Regions from separate parts of the Homo sapiens genome. Here region 1 is linked to region 2. The links are contacts of gene promoters, found by promoter capture Hi-C in blood cells and fetal thymus (Javierre and others, 2016). All regions are on one chromosome and are shown on one strand. The core of a region is centred on a gene start or on the middle of the fragment in contact, and the rest is flanking DNA. Distances in the headings are between cores, read along the strand shown. Region 1 has its middle 110 kb from the start of MIR4316. Region 2 holds the start of SEPTIN9 (septin 9).

What was found. Contacts are between HindIII fragments. The CHiCAGO score rates a contact against its expected background, and 5 or more counts as called.
Region 1: a fragment that was not itself captured here is called in contact with the fragment with the promoter of SEPTIN9 in region 2 in 2 of 17 cell types (total CD8 T cells and activated CD4 T cells); the score reaches 5.5 in total CD8 T cells.

What each region holds. Positions count from the first base shown.
Region 1 is chr17:77,508,942-77,514,577 of GRCh38, forward strand. No RefSeq gene overlaps it. Among named protein-coding and RNA genes, the nearest start is that of MIR4316, 110 kb to the left of the region's middle. The HindIII fragment of the contact is 247 bases long and covers 3,005-3,251 here.
Region 2 is chr17:77,278,778-77,283,716 of GRCh38, forward strand. SEPTIN9 (septin 9) reads left to right here and starts at 2,722. Exons shown (of 12, transcript NM_001113491.2): 1 at 2,722-2,777. The coding sequence starts at 2,759. It overlaps SEPTIN9-DT (SEPTIN9 divergent transcript), which reads right to left and starts at 3,120. Exons shown (of 3, transcript NR_136503.1): 1 at 2,835-3,120. RefSeq lists an enhancer at 804-1,451 and a silencer at 3,053-3,216. The HindIII fragment of the contact is 6,769 bases long and covers 518-4,939 here.

The DNA of each region.
Region 1 (5,636 bases), core at 1,878-4,377, 230 kb after region 2:
CCATGCCTCAGTTTCTCCATCTATAAAATGGTAACAACAGTACCCAATTCATAGGATTGTTATGATTAAATGAGTTAGTTCATGTGAGGCACTTACAATAGTGTCTAGCCAATGAGTGTTTCATAGATGTGAGCCATCATTATCACCATTGACATCACCGCCACCATCATCATCACCATCATCATCATCACTGTAATCACTATCAACATTACCATCATCACCCTCACTATCATTATCATCACTATCACCATCACCATCACTACCATCATCACCATGACCATCATCATCACCATCTCCATCATCATCATCATTGTTATCATCACATCATCAGTATCATCACTACTATGATCGCCATCATTACTACCATCATCCCTTCATTACCATCATCACCATCATTATCAGCATCACTATCATGATCATCACCATCACCATCATCAATATCATTACTACTGTGATCACCATCACCACCACCATTATCCCATCATTATCATTTTCACTATCACCATCATCACCACTACCATCATTATCATCTCATCACCATCATCAACACCATCACCATCATCATCATTACCATTACCATCATCACCGTCACTATTATTACCATTATCATCATCACCATCACCATGATCATCACCATTACCATCATCACCATCTCCCTCATTATCATCATTATCATTATCATCACTTCATCAGTATCATCACTACTATGATCACCATCACCACTACCATCATCCCATCATTATCACCATCATCCCATCATTATCATCATCACCATCACCATCATCAGTATCATCACTACTGTGATTACCATTACCACCATCATCCCATCATTATTTCTGTCACCATCATTATCACCACAACCATCATCATCACCATCATCATCACCACCATCACCATCATCATCACCACCATCATTAGCATCACGATCATCACCATCATCACCACCATCACCATCATCTCCATGAACATCACCATCACCACCATTACCATCATCATCACTACTACTACCTTACCATCCATGTAACGTACCTACTGCCTTACCTAGCACCATCAATGTCACCATAATTATTATCATCACCATCACCATCATCATCACGATTATCACCACAACCATCAATATCATCGTCATTTTCTCCATCATCACCATCAACAACATCCTGAAACTGAAATAAAGAAAAAGGCCCTGCTGTGGCCTCATCTTGCTCCTCTGCTCTGGAATCAGAAGGAGTAAAAACCAGCCAAGTGGAGGGCAGAGCTGACAGCAAAGGAGAAGCTGGGCTGTTTGCTGCCCAGGCCTGGCTGGCACCCCTCCTCCTGGGACGTAGCAACTTTCTGAGCATGTCCTCAGTACGAGGCTTCCCTGCACTGCTTCTCCCTGAATGTTCACAATAGTCCCACGGGGCAGGTGCCATCACGGTGAAGTTGAGGTACAGAGAGGTCAAGGAGCTTGGCCAGGGTGCACAGCTGGTGAGGGACTGAGTCAGGATGTAAAACACTGTCTGATCTGTGGTCCAGTGGCATCCACTGCACTTCACTGCCCACAGTAGGGGTGGGGGTGGGGGTGGCAGGCTCCCTGTTGCCTCAGACTGAAGAAGTGCTCAAGGCTGGCTCTGTGTACTGGGACCTCTCTCCTGGGCCATGAACCACAGCATCTATTTTTAAATGTGGAGCACCTATTCACGGAGGCAGCACCATGCTGGGCCCTGGAGGAACAAAGCAGGCAAATAAGTCAGGACTCTGAACCTGTGGGCGGCCGGTTGGGTGGGGAGGACAGACATGTACACAGAGCATCATAATACAATGAAGCCAGTGCCATGACAGAGGTACATGGGGGCCACCGGGGAAGGTTCCCAGAGGAGGGGCACCTACCCTTGTTGGCAGGGCCAGTGCTGAGTGTCAGTTACGCCCTTTATATTCTTTATAAATTACACAATCTTAGATTTTTTTTTTTTTGAGACAGAGTCTCACTCTGTTGTCCAGGCTGGAGTGCAATGGCGCAATCTCACCTCACTGTAACCTCCGCCTCCTGGGTTCAAGCATTCTCCTGCCTTGGCCTCCTGGGTAGCTGGGATTACAGGCACATGCCACCCCGCCTGGCTAATTTTTGTAGTTTTTAGTAGAGATGGGGTTTCACCATGTTGGTCTGGTCTTGAACTCCTGACCTCGTGATCCACCCACCTTGGCCTCCCAAAGTGCTGGGATTACAGGTGTGAGCCACCGTGCCCTGCCTCAGATACTTCTTTATAGTAGTGTGAAAATGGACTAATACAGTATGCATTCATTGAGTTTCTTGGATCTATTGGCTGATCTTTTTAGATTTTGGAAAATTCTCAACAACTATTCCTCAAATATTTACTCTGCCTTATGCTCCTTTTCTTCTCTTTCTGGTGCTCCAATTTCATGTATGTTAATATTTTTCCACAGTTCTTCAACACTCTGTTCTTTTTTAAATTTTTATTTTGTTAATTATTTTTCTGTTTGAATTTTAGTTTGGATAATTTCTATTGACTAGTCTTTAAGATCCTTTCAGTTTTATTGATCTTTTCTTCTACTGTGTTCAATCTGCTGTTAAACCCATCAAACAAACTCTTTGTATCTAATATTACAGTTTTCATCTCTAGAATTTCCATTTGGTTATTTTATAGTTTCCATTTCTGTGCTGAAATTTCCCATCTGTTCACACATGCTGTCTACCTTTCCCACTAGATCTTTTAACATCTCTATTTTAGTTTATTTAAGGTCCTTGTCTAATAATTCCAACACTCAGTCATCTGTGGGTCTACTTCTATTGGTAATTTTTCCCCTGATTATTAGTCTCATTGCCCTGCTTCTTTGCATGTCTTGCAATTTTTTTAGTCTGAAATGTAGTATATTTTTTAAAAAGTAGTGCCTATAGTAAGTATATGTCTCCTGGAAAAAGAATGTACCCTTCTTCTATTGGGCCATTAGTGTGAGGGACTGAGTCAATCTAATATGCAGTTGACTTGGATCTGGGCTTTAGTGAAGCTTCAGTTAAAGTCACTTAACCACTCACTTCAAATGTTTTGAAAGTAGGATCAGGTCTTTCCCTTAAGTAAGTGTTTGAGAGAGAAGAGGACAGTATGAAAAACGTAATGTGTGCCTGTATTAGAAAGGTCAGAGGGCTTTGAGGATGTAAACATGGTGTATAAAGGTGAGTGTTGTTAAACAGGATATTGCAACAGTGCAGAGATGGGTGGTAACTTTCAGAGGATGAAAGATCTTATTCTTGAAGCTTTCAGCTGGGAATGGTAAAAATAATAACAGATACTATCCTGATGAAGGGCATTCTGGGCCTGAACCCAATCACTTCAAAGACCCTGAAAGAATTCTCAGGATTCCATAGCAATTGGCCATAGGCCACTGCTGCTTCCACATATGAAAAAAATGCTAACATCCCAGTCCTACTTCCAAACCCCAGCACAGGCTGTATTGCCCCCCAGGGTAATTTAACACCAGAAAACAAAAACTTCATTGGTCCTGGTCCAGATTTCTGTGTCCTGGCCTCGCCCATAAAGGGGGCTCCCATTAGCTAACCTGCTCAGCTCCCCGCCACACTTCCCACAGAGCTTTCTAGCTTTTGTCAGCTCAAGGCAGCCCTTGAAAACTGTAGAATCTGAGGGGGTGTGTATCTAATAAAGTTGGAGCTCTGTAATTTAGCAATTACTGTAACCCACACTTGTAATTTAGGGGGTTTCTTGTAATTCTTTGTACTCTTTCTTTTTGAAAAAATATGCAGCCTTAATAGCTTCCTCTTTAATGCTCCAAAGGCCGATATTTGCCACTCCCCATCCCCTGTCAGCTGCAGAGCACAAAGAAGTGTGCAGATCGTGTTGAGGCTGCTTTTCAGGTATTAGAAAGTTTAATTTAATGCTCAGCATCTCCGAAAGGAAACTGAACTTGCTCCTTGTAATCGTGCATGTCTTCAAAGCTCTGAATTCCTCTTCTAGGTTGGTCATCAGTATGGATTAAAATCTGCTGAGAGGTGTAATCTACCCACCTTTCTACATTCTACTATTAGGCCAGTCTCCTCACTGCTTCCTGAATGTGCTAGTGTTAATTTTGCTCATCTGTCTTTATTTGTGCAGTTACCTATTTGTTCATTTAAGATTTTTTTTTCTTTTTTTGAGAACCTCTATGTGCTAGACTCTAGGCTCACTACCAGGAATCTAAGTCATAAAGGACAGGACAACCTCTGTCCAGGAGTTTGTAGTCTGGAAAGACAGATGACTCTATCATAACTACACTCAAGATATTAGGTGTGATGACAGAGCTGGCATAGAGGGTGATGGAAACCAGGGGGTGGCACCTAACTCAGACTGAGCTGTGAGAAGTAGCTATTTGGAAGCCAGGCTATGATGGTAAAAAGAGGCGAGAGAGGCAAAGCGTGGGAAAGAATGGTCCACAAAGCACACAGAGACTTGTGCTGGAATGCTTCTATTCATAAAAGCTGGATTTAAAATAGAGACAAACCGGAAAACACACAGATGTTCATCAATAGAAGAATTTTGATATATGTATACAATGGAATTTGACTTAGCAATTAAAAATGAACTACTGGTACATGTAACAACATGCTTCATTCTTTAAAATGTTATGTTGAACAGAAAAGCCTATTGCAAAGGGCACATAGTATTTAATTCCACGGAGAATGAAATGCAAGAAGAGGCAAAACTGGCCAGGTGCAGTGGCTCATGCCTGTAATCCCAGCATTTTGAGAGGCCGAGGCGGGTGGATCACTTGAGGTCAGGAGTTCAAGACCAGCCTGGCCAACATGGTAAAACCCCGTCTCTACTAAAAATACAAAAATTAGCCAGGTGTGGTAGTACGTGCCTGTAATCCCAGCTACTCAGGAGGCTGAGGCAGGAGGATTGCTCAAACCCAGGAGATGGGGGTTGCAGCAAGCTGCGACTGTGCCATTGCACTCCCCCGGTCTGGGCAACAGAGCAAGACTCCGTCTCAAAATAAATAAATAAATAAATAAATAAATAAATAAATAAATAAATAAATAATCAAAAAAAGAAGAGGTAAAATTAATCCATAGTGATAAAAACCAGAACTCTGGTTGCCTATGGGGAGGTGGAGACTCAATGTGAATGGCCTGGGATGATGTAAATAGGCTATTGGTTTTCTGGTAGCATGTATTTACACATTTACCAACTCATTGAATTTTACACTTAAGATCTGTGTATTTCACTGCAGGCAAATTTTGCCTCGATAAAAACTAACCAGTAAAAGAAGAAAAAAGAATCTGAATGTCTCTATCTTTTTACAGAGGGTTTTAATCCATTCGCATTATTTGTGAGTATTGAGATTGATGTTAGGACTTATTTCTGCTAACTTGCTTTATTTTTAAAACTATAGTTAACATACTTTCTTGTTATTTCTTATTTTCCTTAACAATAATAAAGTTTTGAATTCACGTCTAAATTCAACTGTGACTGTATCCTATTATTTTCTAAATAATCTACAATAGGTTTTGATTTCTTTGTTGACTTAATCATTATTAAAAGAAGGTTTTAAAATTTCCAAACCACTGAGTGTTTCTGTTAGGCTTTGTTAAAACTTGACCATTAATTTCTGTTTTTCCTATTTTAAACAATTGTGGTTAGGAAATG
Region 2 (4,939 bases), core at 1,472-3,971:
TGCTTGAATCCGGGAGGTGGACGTTGTAGTGAGCTGAGATCATGCCACTGCACTCTAGCCTGGGTGACAGAGGGAGACTCTGTCTCATAAATAAATAAATAAACCAGGTGCGGTGGCTCACACCTGTAATCCCAGCACTTTGGGAGGCTGAGGCGGGGGGATCACCTCAGGTTAGGAGTTTGAGACCAGCCTGGCCAACATGGTGAAACCCTGTCTCTACTAAAAAAGAAAAAAATTACAAAAAAAAAAAAATTAGCCAGGTGTGGCGGGCACCTGTAATCTCAGCTACTCAAGAGGCTGAGGCTGGAGAATCACTTGAACCTGGGAGGCAGAGGTTGCAGTGAGCTGAGATCGCACCATTGCACTCCAGCCTCGGCGACGAGGGCAAAACTCCCTCTCAAAAAATAAAAAATAAAAATAAATAAATAAAAACAAAATTTGAGGCTTAAACAATTAAGCTTCGTGCATCTCTTTAATTTTTCTTTTTTTTTTTTAACTCTAATTTCATGACAGATTAAGCTTCATGCATCTCAAAAATGTGTAGAACCCTCATTCCCAGCCTTCCCTCCCTCTCTCTTGTCCTTCTTTCTGATTTCTTGGAATCGGAAGGAAAATTCGGATATCCAGGAACCATCACACAGGAGGCACCCATGTGATGTGTCCAACATCACTCCACGCAGGTGTCCTTGGGTCCTGGGTGCCCAGGTTCCTGTGAATTGTGACCCCAGGCAGAAGCGTGAGCATCCGCAGAGGAACCCACCTACCCAAAGCCAGGGAACAGCCAGGGCTGGCATCCTCAGGGTGACTGTGCTCCAGGGCACCTCTGACTTGTGCTGAGTAAAATGGACAAAGCCAGCAATGCACCCATAACCCAGATTCTTGAGACACCGCTGGACTTTGGGAATCCCAGGCATTAGGCTCGTGGCAGTGTCATCATGGCTAGGCTGGGGGCAGTGTCATCATGGTGCTTGCTGGCCAAGTCAGGACACGGCCTAAGCCGGAATCTGCTGGTGCTGGTACAAGCGGTGAGTGGGCGTGTGGGTGGGGGTTGCGGTTAGGGTGTGGACATCCCAGAATCCAGGACGCTGTTCACAATTCGTCCATACTCCCTGCTCCCCTCCCTTACAGCACTTCCCTCCCGAGGCCTCCTGAGCCTCTAACCCCCAGATAAGGAAAGGGGTGGACTCAGTTGAAGTCCAGTGTCCACTCCGGTCCAATCAGCTCTACCTGGGGTGAGGGGAAACTCCTCTGGCTGGGCTGCTCCCTCTGCAGGGCTGTGGCTGGACAGATTACTCAAGAAAGGAAGCAGGTGGGCCGGAACGAACCCACGGTGCCACATAGGCCTCCGTTCTCATGCATATAAGTTTCCCACACTCAGGCAGGAAATGAAAATGCTTCTTGGACCCCCAAGGAGAGTAAAGGAGAGGGGAAGAGGAGGAGGATTTTTCGGGGCTGTTAGTGACACTTTCAGCCTCCTGTGCATTTTTGGGAGGGCTGCAGGAGAAGGCAATGCTGCGCCCCTACCCAGAACTAGCGAGCGCTTCCCAACTGGCCTCCCGCCTTCCTCTCGTCCTCTACGGCCTCCATTGGCAGCTGTGCAAGGGCCCGGCCCTGCCTCTGTCTCTCCACACTCGCTGTGATACCTCAGGCCTCCCAGGCTCCGCCACGCCCTTCCCTCTTTCGGGAACAGCTGCCTTCCATCACCTTGGCTGCCTGGCTAATTCCTGCTCATTCCTTAAAACCCTGTTTTGATTTCGCCTCAATAAAACTCTGACACCACCCTCCAGTCATAATTAGTCACTTCTTCCTCTGTACGTTGGAAACACCGCTTTATCGTGGAGACTTTAAGGATATCCAAGTAGAGAGAATTCTTCCGTGCAAGTTTTGCATCCTCTCACCACTGCCTGCGTTACCCGAGTTGTAAAGGGCGGCTCCCTGTGTCTGCCCCGCTGCACCGATACACCGAGCTGCGCACGGTGCCCAGCGCAGGGAGAACAAATGATCATCTGTCCAACGCGCCCATTTACAGGTGAGGAAACTAAGGCTCCAACTCAATCGACGCACTCTGCCCTTTTGATTACCAGAAAAGTAGCAGGACAGGTGTCCTGTCCCGCCCTACCCCGGCCCACTAAGCCGGCACCCCGGCTCCGACCCCCGGCTGTGCCCGGCGCCGCCGCGGTGCCCGGCGCCGCCGCCTCGCCCGGCGGGGCCGCCCGGAGCGCCCGCACCTCCGCCCGCTTCCACCTGGCCGGGCCCGCCCCGCCCGGACTCGGGACTGGGAAGTGCGGCGACTCCCGGAACCAGCCATTGGCGCCAGCGCGGGGAGCTGGGGGTGCAGAGCTGCGGGCGCGGCGGGCCACGCAGGCGGCCCCCACCCCCGGCCTGGCCTGGTCTGGTCTGGTCTGCGCTGCCGCGCGGGGGCGCCCCCTCCCAGGCCCGGCGCCCGCCAGCCCCGCTCCGCCAGGTGCAGCGCAGCGCAGGGGTGGGCGGGGGTGGGGCTCGGCGCGCACGTTCACGGGGCGGGGAGGGGGCGGGTCAGGGGCGGGACCACAGCCGGCTGGGCCGGGGTTCTATGCGCATCTCCGGGGAGGGGCGGGGCGGGGGCGGGGCCGGGGCGGGGCCCGGTCGGTGCACTCCAGACGGCGGGCCGCCCCCTCTTCCCGCCTTCCTACTACCGGCCCAGGATTAGCGCCCTGGGAGCGCGCGCCCCGCTGCCTCGCCGCCACACTTTCCTGGGAGCGGCGGCCACGGAGGCACCATGAAGAAGTCTTACTCAGGTGGGCTTCGCGCCCGGGGTGGGGAGGGGTCGGTGTCCCGGGACCAGCGCTGCTCACCTGAGTGCCTGCGGCCGGGAGTGGCGAGGCGCCCCCGGAGCTGAGCGAGTCCCCGCGGCGGGCACACTGCAGGTCGAGTTCCTCCCAGGACAGGGCCGCTGTCGGGCCGCTTTCGACCTGAGCCGACCGTCCCCTGCGCTGTCTCCAGCCCTTGCTCGAGTGTCGGAGGGGCTGCCCTGGGGGACGCTCCCTCTTCCTCGCCCCTTGCACCCTCGCAGGAATCGCTGACTTTCCAGGTCGGCCGGGTGCTTTGGGTCCCTGTGCGTCTGTGTGGGTGAATGGGGTCGGGGCTAGGTGGAGGGGTGTCCTTGGGTTCAGCCTCTAGGGCTGGTGGTCCAGGCCGCAGCATCCTTTCTTCGGATTCTCTTCGGTTTCTCCTCTACTTAGTGGGGCACGGGACGGCCTCCAGATGGGACCGTCCAGCAGCGCCCAAACTTGGCGACTCGGGTTCACGTTTTGCGCTCAGGACGCCGCCCGCGGCTGACATCCTCACTCCACCCTAGCAGGGCCCGCCTTAAGTAGGCGAAGGGGGCCTGACTTGGGCCTCACCATGAGCCGGTTCAGGAGCTTTCATTTCATAAGAGGCTCCCGCTCTGGCACTCTGAAGTTCCATTTCACAGATGGGCACACCGAGGCCACAAGGGCAGGTTAAGAGAAATCCAGATCTTCATTATTTGTCTTTTCCTTCCTTTTTTTTTTCCTTTGTGGTTTTCTCCAAAGGATCCAGGCAGGCAGGATCCTTTGTCCTCCTCAGTCCTCAAATTATAAATAGCGTCTCCTCTTCTAAATCTAGAAACCGTTTGTTTAATGTCCCTCCTTTAATTCATTCAGATAGAAAGGTACCTGCCAAGGATCCATGAATTAATTTTTATTGATAGGAGAACAGAATCATGGGCCTTAGTTGGAGGTGAAGGAGTCATCGGGGCCATCCCCCTGCCTTTGGGCCATTGTCGGTTTCCTCTGGCTTTCCATATTTAGGAACCAAAATGAGTGATAAAGTACCTTGTCTCAAAGAGGATTACTCAGAACTTCCCCGAAAATACCCTTCTGGGTCAGTAGCTTAGAATTTCAACTTTCACCCGGTTGTTGCGAACAAGATGGCCCTCTACGCACCCGGAGCACAGCTCTGTCAGGAGCGTGGGTGGGTTGGTGTGCTGGTGGGCGGGAGCGGGCTTCCAGGTGGCACATGCTTGGTTTTGGCACCGGGGCTTCCTCCCCAACATGCTCCAAATACTTGAGATTGTTGTGGGGATCGCGCGGTGCATGGCCCTTTCCAGGGGATCTCTAGCCCGCCCAGGGAGGGCCCTTTGCCCTTGGTTTCTTACACTTTACCTCCCACTGGTGGGTCCAGACAGTGGGGGTGACCGGGGTCCTCCCAGGTCGTGGGTCCTGGGTTTTTTCTGCGGAGACCCTCCTGCACAGATGCCGGAAGGGCCCTGAGGCAGGCTTGGAGTCTCTGCACCTGCGGCTTACTGGGAGGTGGGGAGACCATCACTTGTCCTTTTCTCCTCTCCTCCACACACACCTACCCCACCCCTCACTGGGTTTCTTTTTTTTTTTTTTTTTTAAAAAAAAGGACAGAACCTTTTGCAGTAGGTGGAAGTAGAGTTTGTGGAGTGAGCAGGAACCAACTCTTGTACAGCAGCCTCGGTGCCTCCTTGTGTTTACCTAAAGGGGCAGGCCCCTCTGAGGATGGGGGAAGGGAGGGCTCAGACCATTTCTGGTTTGCTCCCTGCTTGGCAGTGGCCCAAGGTGTGCTGGGTCACTGTGTTGCAGTTGTATGGAGTGGGACTGGAGGGGGCTGATGGTGGGGGTGGCCTCTTGCCCTCATTCTGAGTGTCCTGGAGCTGTCTTGGCACCAGCCCTTTTCCGGGTACGGGCACTCGCAGGAGTCAGGCTGACCCCCCAACAAGCCATCGACACCATGAAATTAAGGAAAGCAGCAAAAGATGTTAAAAATCCCCCAAGGCTCTGACAATCCAAGGACAACAGGAAGGTCTTTATTTTTTCATCTAGACTGTGCGGGATTATTGCTTCCAGACCTGTATGTGGGCTTCAGAATAAACGGAATGACCATAATGTTGTTCCCGGTAGACCTGGTTTGA